Regions from separate parts of the Homo sapiens genome. Here all the other regions are linked to region 1. The links are contacts of gene promoters, found by promoter capture Hi-C in blood cells and fetal thymus (Javierre and others, 2016). All regions are on one chromosome and are shown on one strand. The core of a region is centred on a gene start or on the middle of the fragment in contact, and the rest is flanking DNA. Distances in the headings are between cores, read along the strand shown.

The links. Contacts are between HindIII fragments. The CHiCAGO score rates a contact against its expected background, and 5 or more counts as called.
Region 2: a contact is called between a fragment that was not itself captured here and the fragment with the promoter of GRIK1-AS2 in region 1, in 5 of 17 cell types (M1 macrophages, megakaryocytes, M0 macrophages and 2 more). The highest score is 6.2, in M1 macrophages.
Region 3: a contact is called between a fragment that was not itself captured here and the fragment with the promoter of GRIK1-AS2 in region 1, in 1 of 17 cell types (monocytes). The highest score is 5.7, in monocytes.
Region 4: a fragment that was not itself captured here is called in contact with the fragment with the promoter of GRIK1-AS2 in region 1 in 1 of 17 cell types (monocytes); the score reaches 5.3 in monocytes.

Annotation. Positions count from the first base shown.
Region 1 is chr21:29,594,155-29,597,537 of GRCh38, reverse strand. GRIK1-AS2 (GRIK1 antisense RNA 2) reads right to left here and starts at 1,498. Exons shown (of 3, transcript NR_033368.1): 1 at 760-1,498. It overlaps GRIK1 (glutamate ionotropic receptor kainate type subunit 1), which reads left to right. Exons shown (of 18, transcript NM_001330994.2): 9 at 968-1,012. The HindIII fragment of the contact is 3,262 bases long and covers 1-2,278 here.
Region 2 is chr21:29,835,497-29,838,879 of GRCh38, reverse strand. The region is part of intron 1 of GRIK1 (glutamate ionotropic receptor kainate type subunit 1); the gene reads left to right. Among named protein-coding and RNA genes, the nearest start is that of GRIK1-AS1, 89 kb to the right of the region's middle. The HindIII fragment of the contact is 805 bases long and covers 1,260-2,064 here.
Region 3 is chr21:29,797,473-29,800,855 of GRCh38, reverse strand. All of the region lies in intron 1 of GRIK1 (glutamate ionotropic receptor kainate type subunit 1), which reads left to right. Among named protein-coding and RNA genes, the nearest start is that of GRIK1-AS1, 51 kb to the right of the region's middle. The HindIII fragment of the contact is 2,198 bases long and covers 459-2,656 here.
Region 4 is chr21:29,779,753-29,783,135 of GRCh38, reverse strand. The region is part of intron 1 of GRIK1 (glutamate ionotropic receptor kainate type subunit 1); the gene reads left to right. Among named protein-coding and RNA genes, the nearest start is that of GRIK1-AS1, 33 kb to the right of the region's middle. The HindIII fragment of the contact is 5,578 bases long and covers 1-3,383 here.

The DNA of each region.
Region 1 (3,383 bases), core at 249-2,748:
ATGATCTAAAAGCCTATAATTTTTTTAAGAAAATGTCTGCTTCTCGAAGCATGAGTCTTTCCCCAACTCTGTTCTCCTCTTATGTATAGCACTGAAGGGGGAAGAAAAGCTGTTAAGGAAACATCTTTTTGGCTAGGTGAATGATGAAATAGATGGAGCTATTGTTATGCTTTCACAGCTATCTATACACCGTAATATTATGCACATTGCATTGGTGTTTTTCCATCAAAGGCAAAATCAAATTAGATGAAAGTGTTTTGTGTTGGTTTCTTATCTCTTCATTGTTTGCAATAACTTTTCTTTCTTCAGGTGTCTTGGGCTCAATTCCTGAGAAGGCTGATTGGGCCTTAAGGCAATGAGGGAAGCCAACACATCTCTCTCAGGAGCCGAGGGAGGAAATGCCCAATCTTTTTATGTCAGCCTCTCTTGGAGTCAATAGGGAAAATTATTAGAAAAATCCCATTCTCACTTTCACTCAAATTTCTACTGCCCAGAAACCCATAATCAAAGAACAAGTCATCAAGCATACTTCTTCTTTATATGTGTGTGTCTGTGTGTGTGTGTGTTTGTGTGTGTGTGTGTGTATTGATTGATTTGCTGGTTGGTTGGTTAATTGATTGATTTTAGTTACCAATGCCTTAAAAGGGTCTTCTTAAGGAACAATGAAGACCCTTAATACTGCAGCATACCTGTATACATTGAAAAGCACTTTAAGGCATTTCTTGGTGTGTGAAAGGAAAAGTAAAAATTGAGTCTTACCACCAGGTAACTTCTGTGAGACCCAAGTCTTGATTCGTCTCTTTGCTGTACCTATTGTCAGGCTTTATATTGAATTAAGATGCAAATTCCAAACAATGGGTGGGAACTGTAACACTCTAAGCACTCACACACCATGATTCCTTCTGGGTTTCACGCTCCATTTTAATTAAGTGCTGTTTTTATTTTATTTTTCTCTCTGAAAACCAAGGCTGCTGGCGAAGTGTCTAAACACTTGTATAAAGTGTGGAAGAAGGTTTGTACTCTGACAACAACTGCAGGAAACCTGGGGGTGGGATGGGGAATGTCATTGGAAAGGCCTGTGCCCTTCCAATGTTACCAGACCTGTAGCTCTCCAATTGCAGTTTAGAAGGGAAGTTCCATGTAAAGAGAGAGGAGTGATTGAATATGTTATCTCTCTCAACAACATCACCTGTGAATTGAAAACAGGTTTGCAGTGGATTAAATAATTATGGATTAAATATTTCCCCCAAGATTATTTTTGTTTCTCCCAGGCAGGATCAGTCCTTGTTAGGATTGAAAGCAGGCAACTGTAACAGAAGGAGACACTGACCTATTTATATTCCTTCTCAAATCACTAAATATTTTCCTTAAGGGGGATAAAAATCACAATAGATTTGATCCATGAGACTAGTCAGATAGGCTACAGCCTCAGAAGGCTAGGACACCTCCTGTAATGTCACCACCACAAAATATGAACCATTTTCAGAAATTTCCTTTTCTCATGAGCTATCTTTTGTTTTGTGTGATATCTTCATCAGAGTATACTGTCTTGCAATTTGTTTTAGAGCCACAGTTCTAAAGAGGACACAAACGTTAGGGACCTTGGAAAGGAAATGAGATTATCTTGTGAATTATAACACCCACTATTTTATAGTTTATTATACAGTGCCATGTTGCCAATGAATGTGCATAGATTTATGTAAGCAAATATGAGACATTAAAAACATTTGGATCAGAGAAATGTCCCCGTGGTAAGCAAACATTTTCTTTCATCTCTTCTCTCTCTTTCTCTTCCTCCTCTCCTTCCTTCCCTCTCTGTCTCTCTCTCTCTAAAACTACTTGGTAAAAAAAATCTATGGACTGATGAATGGACCTTAAATTGCTTCAGGTTGTTCAACTTGAACAGTTTTGTCAGGTTCACTTTCATCTTTCAAATTATCAGCTATGTCACAGAAAGTGTACACAAGTTTCTCCCTGTAGCCAAAAACCTTGTCCCCCTCTTAGTAGTACTCAGTGATGAATTCAAAAATTTTTTCTTTTTAAGTTTTCAAAGCATAGGTTTAAAAGCCTTGTTTTAATCTTCAGTGAACAAGGCTACTAAGTGCATGTAGAAGGCGATCTGGTTTCCTCACTAAAATTTTACTGGTAAATAGATGAACCTAACCGGCACCCAGAAAAAGAAAAAAAAAAAAAAAAACCTATTACACTAATCCATCTTGAGACTCTGGGCACTTTGAATTAATCTAATACAAATGTCCCAGGGAATGGAATCCAAGCTTTGAAATTATATAAAGGGGAGGGGGGATGTCCTCTATTTGTCACTAAACTGCAAGAGCCACACACACTCCCGAGGGTTGTAACTTTCTGATCTTGATCCTCCATGCCTTCATGCCTCTTCCCTCCTGGTAGCCCATCATGTTCCACATTGTAAGTTGTATATACTGTGGTGTGCTGTTTTGTGTTATAACTCCGTCAAAAATTCACGGTAACCTGAGTTCTAGCACAGGCGACCCACTCAGACCCAACAAACACATTGCACTTTTTCCAGAAGTCTCCAACTTAAACAAAAATTCACCTTCATCATATTGAAATCCCAAAAGCTTTCCTCGTACTCTGACTTATTTTAGAATAGTATTATTCACCCAAAATTCTTTCCAAAAGAGGAAGGTAGCAATCTTTACAACATCCCTCACTAAAATATTTGTTATATAAGGTTCGTAATACAGGAAACACATATACCTTTATCTTTGCCCTAGATACCTGATTATTTCCCTCAGCCACTTTAGATGTTGAGTTTACATGAATCACTGTCTAGGTTTAGAAGATAGATACTAGTGGCTCTCTGAATACCCTTTTTATTGCATCGCTTTTTAAAAAAAGTTTGCTTAATGTCATTTGGGCACTCATTTTCAAATGCTTTTCTCAGTTGTCCTAGATAACACATGGCTGCTCCCTTGTGCCAGCTTACAAAGTGAAAGAAATCAGGGCCAGGTAATTTAGATATTGAGTGCTCCTCCCCACAAGTAACTGATCCACCCTCCACTACTTCTCACTGGTAAATGACTACTGTCTGCTTTCACTGTGAAGCTTGAAAACTGAGGTTCCGCTCCCTGGAGGCACTCCTCCTAGTTCGTAGAACAGTACTGAAATGTCAAATGTCCAGGCATCTTCTTAACTGTACCTCTGTCTCCAGCACACATGAATCATGAGATCTGACTTCTTTAAAGGGAGACATTCATTTCCTGAGAACATATTCATTTACTTCAAGTAACAGATAAAGCCACATGACTACTTGGGTTTAAAAGACACAGGTACACACATGCGTGCACATACACACACACACACACACACATACACAGTTCTGTTTTGCTGATTACAGGTTT
Region 2 (3,383 bases), core at 413-2,912, 240 kb before region 1:
TTCTGTGATCTGTGAGGTTAGTAACTTGTGACAAAGAAAGTGATGAATCTTGTTTTCATGTTTTCTTTTTTCAGGCAAACCATGCTAGATCTTTGTAACTGTTATTTTATTACAAGAGATTACAGGACATTCTTTAATAATTTTAGAGTCTCTGCTGTAATCAGTATCAAACTCAGAGCTTTGGCTTGTAAAATCCACGTTATTTTGCTGAAAACTAGATAGTGATTTGCCCTTCACCAGTCTTCTATTATTTGCTGTGATTTCTCTTAGACCTACTAGTTCTGCTGTTTCTGAAGTCTTGCAGGCAGGCAATATCTTTGAGTTCAACCCAGTTAAACTAGGAGCCAGAACTCCCGGAGAGCAGCAGAAGAGTGAGTAGGGGCAGGAGTCACTTACAACTTCTTAATCCATCATGGATTTCAGTTCCCACTTACTAATAACTGTTTCACCTTTTGAGTTTTTTTCAGTACAAACAAGATGGAAGCTAAATGGCCAATGAGGAATCTTTTTTTTTTCTGTGATATCCGTCTTCATTGAAGTTCTTCAGAGAGCTTTAGTACTCTTCATAGTTTAAAATACAAAACTATCTTCTTGGTTGTCCAATTCAGTTTCTGCAGCCCCCAGTTGGTTAGAACTTTGACTTCCAGCACTCCTCCTATGGGCTTCTATGATACTATATTCGCTACTGAATCAAGGGCTGATTCCTCTTATCCTATTATGGACCCAATGAGCTTTTAATGCAGAAATTCTTTGAATGGGTCTTTTGCAAACCTGCTTATTAATTTAAGAAGTTTCCTCTTTTCTCCTTTATTGAAATCATTTAGAAACATATAGATAAAATTTCACTTTTAACTTTTTGAACCATCTTCCTCTTCAGATTCTTAGTGTATAATCAAACCTATTCCCTTTCCAAAATTATGAAATTTGCATTTCTACTTAGAATACTGGAAGGTGGATTTTAGTTTTCCCAGAAATATAAAGTTTCTTGGGGCAAAATATAGAATACTGGGGGCTTCTCCACACTCGGGGCTTTGGAAGCCACACTGTATAAGACTATTGTGTGTTTTTACCCAAGTACCACTAATGTGGAACAGTGGCACTGTTTACTAAACGGTAAGTTTTTTATATTCTAAATCTTATGATCACAGTGGGTCTGCTTTAAGTTTGATATATTTATAAACAAATGTATTTTCTTCTGGTTTATTCTTCATATATTCTAAAATATTTAGATTTAAATATGAACTATATGCTCATAAGCTTGGCTGACTCTAGCAAAAAGTAGTCTTCTATAGGAAAATTGTCTTTGTTTCCCAGACTTCTCTTTGCTGTCATTCCCCCCCATTGGTGGTTGCCTAGTCCTCCTATTCTTCAGTTTCTCAGTGCTCTCATAGTCCTGCCTCCTGTGACTCTAACTCAATATAATCACATATTTATTATATTCACAATGAGTTATAAATATCTAGAAGTTGTTCTTCCCTGGACATAACTATGTTAAGAAGCATCAGATGCTGCTAAAGGCTTTCGGAAGAGAAATGAGGAAGTTCATTGTCAATCACTCATTTATTCTTTTACTCAATAAACACTTGTAGAGCCTCCCCTATGTGCCAAAACGGTGTCAGGAAACACAAGATCATTGCAGATGAAGTTCCTGAACTCTAACAACTCTCCTTGTAGGAGAGAGAGATACCAGAAAATATAAGGGGTGTGAAAACCAGAAAAGATTAATTTTGAATTACAATTTCAGCTTAGCTATCCAAAAAACGATTACATCCCATTCAGAAAAGCATGTGAAAAGGGTATGAACTAGCATTTCAGATTTTGAAGACTGCATCAGGGTGTACTTACGGTGAAGGGTCCCAAGTGCCAAAGCAGCTAGAGAAAAAGCAGGTGCTGGATCATGAGGGACTTTATGCCTAAGGTGAGAGTTGGACTTTATCTCTAAAACTGTGGGCAATATCTAAAGCATAATTTTCTTGGCTCCTAGAGACAAAATGTAGGTGGCTTCTTCTTTCCTCTCAGCCCCCATTTTAATAGAAGAGAATTTTGAAAGAAGATAACTAAGCTTTATACTTCTACACTATCAATGAAATTACATTTTTTAGCATTAAGAAAGGTATGGACACGTTAGAATTTAATGTAATATTTGTCTGATTTCTCATGATGTGAGATTTGTGGGCTTATGATAGTGTCTGTGTAAATATATATATATATGCAACATTACACATGTATATGTGTGCATTATCTATTAAATATATACTTATCAAAATATCCAACTTTCATGTTTATAAACTTATAATTCACAGGCAACAATGGCAAATCAGAGTGGATCTTATTTTTAATCTGCCTAGCAGAAAATTTATTTAGTATATGTTTTACTATAATTATCCTAATAATTGTTCCACTGTACATAGGGACTTTTCCCAGAGTTGAGTAAATTGGTTAGGAAATAAAAGGAGCTATACTGCATAAAAATAACCTAAAATTAACATCTGCAAATAAGCCAGGGGACGTGTGTCTGTCTCTGTGTATCATAAGCATTTCTAGAGACTGATCATCTGACTTAGTACTTTTACATAGCTATCCTTTCCCTACTTGGCCCCAAGAGAATGTTATTTCTCATGATTGGTTTATCCATTGTATTAAAACAGAAAGAAATAATACAATTTTCTCTTAAATTTCCCAGTGCCTCAGTTCAATTTCCTGCTGGTAGATTTCTGCTTTCTTTTTATATCTAAGAAATTATACTCTTTACTTTACAAAGGACAGTGCACTGACCGACTGAAATGAATGTGCTTGTAATAGAACAGTGGGCAGCAGCCTGCCAGGCTTGGTGAAGAGTGCAGCCTGCTATTGCTTTCCAAGGAACAGTTTCTCCCACAGCTTTCTTTCACCAAAGTGTGTCTATTGCCATCAAGTCAGAAAGGAATGAATATTTGCGTGGTTGGGGAAAACAAACCTGCTGTTGAGGAACAGGTTACTTTAAGCCGGAATTATCTAATCAGACTGTACCAAAATCACCAAGCAATTGCTAGCTCTGGACTTAGCTTTTATAAAGCAACGACAAAATGAGTTAATAAGTTAAAAAAAATAGAGGAAATAATCATTATTGCCCATTGGGTTATTCTGAAATATGGCTTCTTCAGCAAACAACAGGGCAAAAGTATATTATCTGTGTTTAGGGCCCAAGACCAGATGGATTTATAGGATATAAAATATAGCCTTAAAGATCCCGAGAGGTTTGAAGCCCCAGAATTCCTCCCTGCACTGACTGTTTTAATACCCTAAAATGTCCTCAACAAATGATCAGTTGTTTGGAGATGTGCATTATGGGATTGTGGGATTCAGAGGCTCTAGCAAACTCTTGAAACAACTGTGTTTTCCAC
Region 3 (3,383 bases), core at 308-2,807, 200 kb before region 1:
TCCTCTTTCTCCCTCCTCCGACTTGTCTACATACAGGGTCTTACCATTTTTTGTTCATACTTGTGTGACAGTGTTCATCTTCCAATATACAAAGTATCTTTGTGGTATAGACCATGTCTTATACTTTCTTGTGTTTTCTACACAATCTACTATAGTGTTAGGTGCACAGAAGGTATTCATCAAAAGCCTAATGCGTGAACGGGTTGGTTTGTTTCATTAACTTTATTTTCATTTGAAGAGTTTTTGGTTTATTGAGCCAACAGAAATTCCAACAAGAATTCATCAAGTACAATAAAGAAACAATTGACCATTAGGAAATGTTAAGAACACATTCCCTTTTTAAAGTTGCAAGACCTGGGTACATACTCTCGCTATAGTCCATTCTGTCATATATGTGTGAATACAATAATGCTGACTTGTAATGCTTGCTTAATAAAGGTGTCTTCTTTTTAAAAGCTTTTAGAGTGGGGAAAATGGGCCAGTATGGGTTTGTAAGAATGCATACACATGGTGGAGAAAAGTTGTTTTCCTTTCGATTTGTAAAATCACTTTCTACTGTTCTCAGAGATAAGCCCTGACACATAAGAAAGGAAATGCCTGGTAGCATTGAATTGTTGCATGCCTAGAGGGAGCAGCTAAAGGGCCAGTGCTTTGGGCTATGTAGGCTTTAAGAAAGCCAGATCGTGTATTTCATTTTTGTGATCCAGATAACTTATAAGGGATTTGCTGTCATGTACCCACAGAAAAAGGAACTGTCTAAATTCTCATGCCATGGCATAAGAGAACGATGTACTTTGCAAGCTGTTATGACCCTAGGAGACTCCTCAGTACAACAATCTCATTTGCAGAAGAAGTTCGGAGAAGCCTCTTATGATTAAATAAATTTTATTATTTTCCACTTAACAAAATTCATTCACACTTTACTGTAGAGCCAATAATGGTTTAACCTTAAAATGACCTCTTTAGTAATACCATAAGTGGAATTTCTACTTGAATATAAATGTTGTCTGTTTAAAAAAACTGGCTGGGCACTGTGGGTCATGCCTATAATCCCAGCACTTTGGGAGGGAGGCTAAGGCAGGTGGATCACTTGGGGTCAGGAGTTCAAGACCAGCCTAGCCGACATAGTGAAATCCTGTCTCTACTAAAAATACAAAAATTAGTCGGGCATGGTGGTGCATGCCTGTAGTCCCAGCTACCTGGGAGGTTAACGCAAGAGAATCGCTGGAACCCAGGAGGCAGAGGTTGCACTGAGGCAAGATTGTGCCACTGCACTCCAGCCTGGGCGACAGAGTGAGACTCCATCTCAAAAAACAAACAAACAAACAAAAAACAAATGAAAACAAACAAACAAACAAAAACACCTGGGCTCTGGGGCTCTGGAGTGAGATACAGCTGGGTTTAAATCTGAGGTTGGCCTTTACTGGCTGTGTGTCCCTGGACAGGTCACCTAATGTCTTTAAACATTTGTTTACATGTTAAGTGGAAGATATTCTACTCTCTACCTTAAGTGAGACATTCCGTGAATAGCATAACAGCGCCATGTGGTTTTACATATGGTAAGTGTCCATGTCAGTCTAAATGTCTTAAAACGGTTGCAATTCTTTTCCAGTTCTTCTAATTATAAAATTAAGCAAGACAGATTTTTAAATATAATGCTTTGATGGCACATTAAAGGTTGAAATGTCCAAGACGGAAGATGTGATTGTTTCCATGTAACTGATATGAGGAAAAGGGTTGATAACCTTTATTTTGGATGATGAGGTTTAGCCTGGGATTGCTGGCATTCTTGGAATGTGACAATTCCAGGCAATGTTTACAGTTCTCAGGTGTTCTCTGAGATAGTATTATCTGGAGGTAATCTTTTGTTGATTGTCAGTAGGGACAAATGGAATTAATTTAGCATCGATCTCTCTCAGCCTCTCTCCAATCTTCACTCCTACCTCCACCAAACACAGCATCTAACCAAACCAACCACCAAGTAAAGCAAGCCAGCCAGGTGATGTCTTCGGACTATATAGTGTCATTTTTAACCCACCAATGTTTAAGGAGAATTAATATACAGAGTCCCTAGAATTTGTCAGCACGTTAATACTGCTTTGAGCAACCCAAAGAGGCTTTGGACATGCCGAGGAGTATTTGGAGACAGGAATTGAGAGGAAAGTGGACTTTGAAAAGTGTTTCTTTTAATGTTCTTTGAAATCACTCTAAAATTCTTTGAGAAATGCAGGTAATGAATGAAGGATTTTTAAAAGGCACTGTGGTAGTTGTCTTGCTTTTCTTTCTTCAATTTAATGTGATACAATGTTAAGACTGGAATTCACTTGGAGTTCTCATATTTATTCAAATTGCAGAATTTTAGGGAAAAATTTGAACAACTAAATCATCTTAGGGCTCTAAGCTATATAGTTGTAAGAAAAAGAACTTGTGTGTTTAAAGTTATGCTAAACTACTTAGCACTACTTACATTAAAGTAATGAACGATAATCCTGGAGTACGTAGTAGAGTTAAATTTTATCCATCCTATTGTTAGCTTTTTCAGTGAGGTCACCAATAAAACCTAAATTGAGAATCTGGTAAGTCATTACTTCCCATTCGCCTAAGAATTTTTAGCAGCAGTATCCTTGGATGTTCAGAGGATAGACCTAATAAAGCTTATTATCAGGTTGGATCAATGCAAGACAGACAGCCAAGTATATTATAAAAGACAGTAGATAGAAAGGATCTTTAATAAATAAAGTCAATTTCTTCCAGTCGGTATTCAGGACTCATCATGTTGAGTAGATGCCACCTATTCTCTATAATTTGTTTTAGAAGTACTCTGGGGACTTACATATGAGTACAAAACAAAAGAAGAAAACATACTCATTGGGACTAAAAACCAACAAACTGAAAAACAGACTTTATTTGTTTTTCATCACTGAAGAAAGAGCTGAATTTCATGAAGAGTGTAGGATGCAGTATCTACTCAGAGGAGGCAATAATAAAGGGATGATTGGGCATTGCAGGAGGAAACCTCATCTAGTGGGAGAAAACGTTGTACTTTTTTGATAAAAGAAATCTAGGCGGGACATTGTTAAAGAAAAATGACAAGCTCAGGCATTGTGTTGCTCTTCATGTAGAACTCTACAACTTTTAAATGGAACTGTTCTTTTCAAGGTGATCAAAAATTAGTGAAGAATTTTGCCTACTATCCTTGCAAATTCAACATTTTTATTATATTGACAAATGCAACTAATTACATATATGTCATAGATTAACTATAAATAAATTACGAGGCTGTGTGATGGAATTATTTTGTCCAGGCAGGAATTTGTGAATGGGTGAAAACTGAGAGGGTGCATATATAATACACAGCTTCCCCGTATACATTGGCTTCAATG
Region 4 (3,383 bases), core at 540-3,039, 190 kb before region 1:
TAAAAATAAAAAATCTAATATCAGATTATTGGAGATGGATAAATTAAGCATTGTTCAAGAATGGGAAGAAATGGATACTTTAATGTGTTGTGTTGGGGGCTATATAATGGTACAGTCTTTTTGTAGGGAAATGACACTGCACATCAAGAATTAAAATGTGCATGAATTTTGCTGGAACAATTTCACACCTACGATTTTACACCAAGATGAAAAATGATCAAGTGAATACAAATGTTCATGAGTAGGGATGTTCATTGCAGCATTGTTTACATAGTGAAAAACCAAAACCAAGCCTCCGTGTGTAATACTGAAGGGTTGATAAAATGAAGCAAAGTAAAAGGAAATTCCCTGAAGTTATTAAAAGGGAGATGAATTAGATATATTCATTAACTGAGAAAGACATCCATGTCATCGTTAGGAAAAACTAGTTTCAAATCTGAGTAGTATCCATGGGGAAATCTTTGCCCGTTTTATGTGAAATAAGTAATTCAAATCTACAAGACAAACAGGTTCAATGGGTAATCCAGGCCCCTGTCTCTCTGCCTGTAACAGGCAGGCACAGAATCAATCAGAGTAAGCCTGTGGACCAAAGAGAATCCTAGACCTCATGATACTCCATCTTGGGGGTGCTGACCACCCCTTGCCCTTCTGAAAAATCAAGAATCTGTGAAGTGTTTGGCGCACTTAGTTAAATATAAACTTTCTCCATGACTCAGCAATTCCATTCCTGACATATGTCCCAAAGAAAGGGAACATTACCGAAAAAAGTGGCCTGTAATCCCAACACTTTGGGAGGCCAAGGAGGGCAGATCACAAGGTCAGGAGATCGAGACCATCCTGGCTAACACGGTGAAACCCTGTCTCTACTAAAAATACAAAAAATTAGCCAGGCTTGGTGGCGGGCGCCTGCAGTCCCAGCTGCTCGGGAGGCTGAGGCAGGAGAATGGCGTGAACCCGGGAGGCAGAGCTTGCAGTGAGCCGAGATCGCGCCACTGCACTCCAGCCTGGGCGACACAGCGAGACTCCGTCTCAGAAAAAAAAAAAAAAAAGGTGTTGCAGTGTTGTATACGGGACAGTGAGTTGGCAGTACCCAAATGCCCATCACTAAGGAATGAGTAGAGGATGGAACCAGGGCACAATAGGCAGCTTTTAGAAACAGTAGGTTAGGCCGGGCGCGGTGGCTCACGCCTGTAATCCCAGCACTTTGGGAGGCCGAGGCGGGTGGATCATGAGGTCAGGAGATCGAGACCATCCTGGCTAACAAGGTGAAACCCCGTCTCTACTAAAAATACAAAAAATTAGCCGGGCGCGGTGGCGGGCGCCTGTAGTCCCAGCTACTGGGGAGGCTGAGGCAGGAGAATGGCGTGAACCCGGGAAGCGGAGCTTGCAGTGAGCCGAGATTGCGCCACTGCAGTCCGCAGTCCGGCCTGGGCGACAGAGCGAGACTCCGTCTCAAAAAAAAAAAAAAAAAAAAAAAAGAAACAGTAGGTTAGGTGCACATGTAAGAACAGGGATAGTGCTGAGAAAAAAAAAAATCAGAAAGATATCTGTAAAACAACAAAATTTATGTAAGTTTAAAAGTGCATACAACAACTATAGACATTTAAAGATATACATTAAATCCATTGAATGTTCACCAGCTTGGGGTGGGGAAGAGAGTAATGAGAGTGGGAAATACAATGGCATACACATAGGTACGTATTTATAAAGAGGGATATTGCATGGGCTAATGATGATAGTAGGCCATGAAAGTTATATAATTAACTCCTTGTTCCTGGAAAATAAAAAATGGAAGGAAGGAATTAAGGTGGGATGGAAGAAAGGAAGAAATGCAGTGTGGGAGGGAAGGAGGTTTTAGGAAAGGAGAAAGAAAGGAAAAAAGGAAGGAGCATGTTGCAAAGAAGTATAAAGTTGCAAAGAAGCACAGATAGGTATGATTCCATTTATATAAAATTTTGTGTATATATCTGTGAAAAGGGTTTGTGTATACGTGTGTGCATGTGTGTACATAAAAGAGATGTCTTAAAGAATACTCATTAAAATGAGCATTTTAATGCTCACCTATGTCACCCCTGGGAGTGAGATTTTAGATGGGTTTTACTTTTCTTAATACTTCTTTTGTATTGCTTGGCTATTCCAGATGGGAATGTGTTATATCTATAATCTGAGGTTGAGGGGTTGGTATAATTTTGGGTTGTGGGTGGAAATAAATCATCCAGGAATAGCAGATCCTCTCTCTTGCTCTCCTGACATGTCTTTCATATAAACATTGTCTCTAATCATTTTTACTCACCCTTCAATGTGTCAAATGTAAAGCAGGTGTGGCAGAAGCAATAGTGATTTAGTTACAAAATATTGAAATATACTATAAAGATGGACAGGAAATCCATAAGGTGCTTCTTCTGCAATTAAGAACAATATCTAATCATCAGAAACAAGTTTGCTGGCTTGAAATCAAGTGATAAAATGATGCTGAGCCACAAGAGATTCTTGCCCTAATTCCCCTAAAGCTGCTCGTTCTCCTGTTTGCTTTGATTGAACGGCTTCTGTTTCTATTGTCGCAGGCAGGGATACCTAGCAAATTCTCCGCTACTTCAGGCAGGTTTACCCTAGCTAAGTGAAATGAAATCTTAAGCAACCTCTGGGGTACTTGTTGGCTTTAATAATTCAAGTGATAGCACCCACTTTCTTTTCAGAATATATATGCCTTCCTAAACTGTCTCATGCACTGAATTTTTCTATTTTACCATCTTTGTAAATATTCCAATAATGTTATTACAAAATAATGGATAACTATGTCCAAGATGGGTAAATTTAGCTTAAATCCAAAATATATAAATCTTAGTGGTTCCTTGTAATCTCATGGACATGGCTGAAAAGGGGAACGTGGTTCAAAATAATAGTCCCCATAAGTACCTTTCAGGAAATTCCAACTAACACTTACTAATTTCAGAGTAAGTAGATACTAGCTGGCATCCAATTAGCTACAGTATTTACATATTCTATCTCACTGAATCCACCTAATTAAGAGGTAGTATCTATTTATGAGATAGGTATAATTAGCCCCGTTCTACAGATGAGTAAATTTAAGGTCATAGAAGTTAGATAACTTGACCAAGACCACAAAGCTAATAAAGAAGTGCCCAACCTGCAGTTCAGATTTAATTATTTCATAGTATTTAGTGTTCCAAGAAGAAAATCCAGGCATGAGGGTTTTTTTTCTTTGCACTTGTATTTTGCAGGTCACAGTCATATAAGTAATTAGCCTTCACCAATCTCACTATCTACATTTTGTCAGCTAGATACCTCCAGCAAAAGTTGTTCCATGAGAATGTAACTTTTTATAAGACCACATCTTTAAAACGATATTATCACATAGTAAA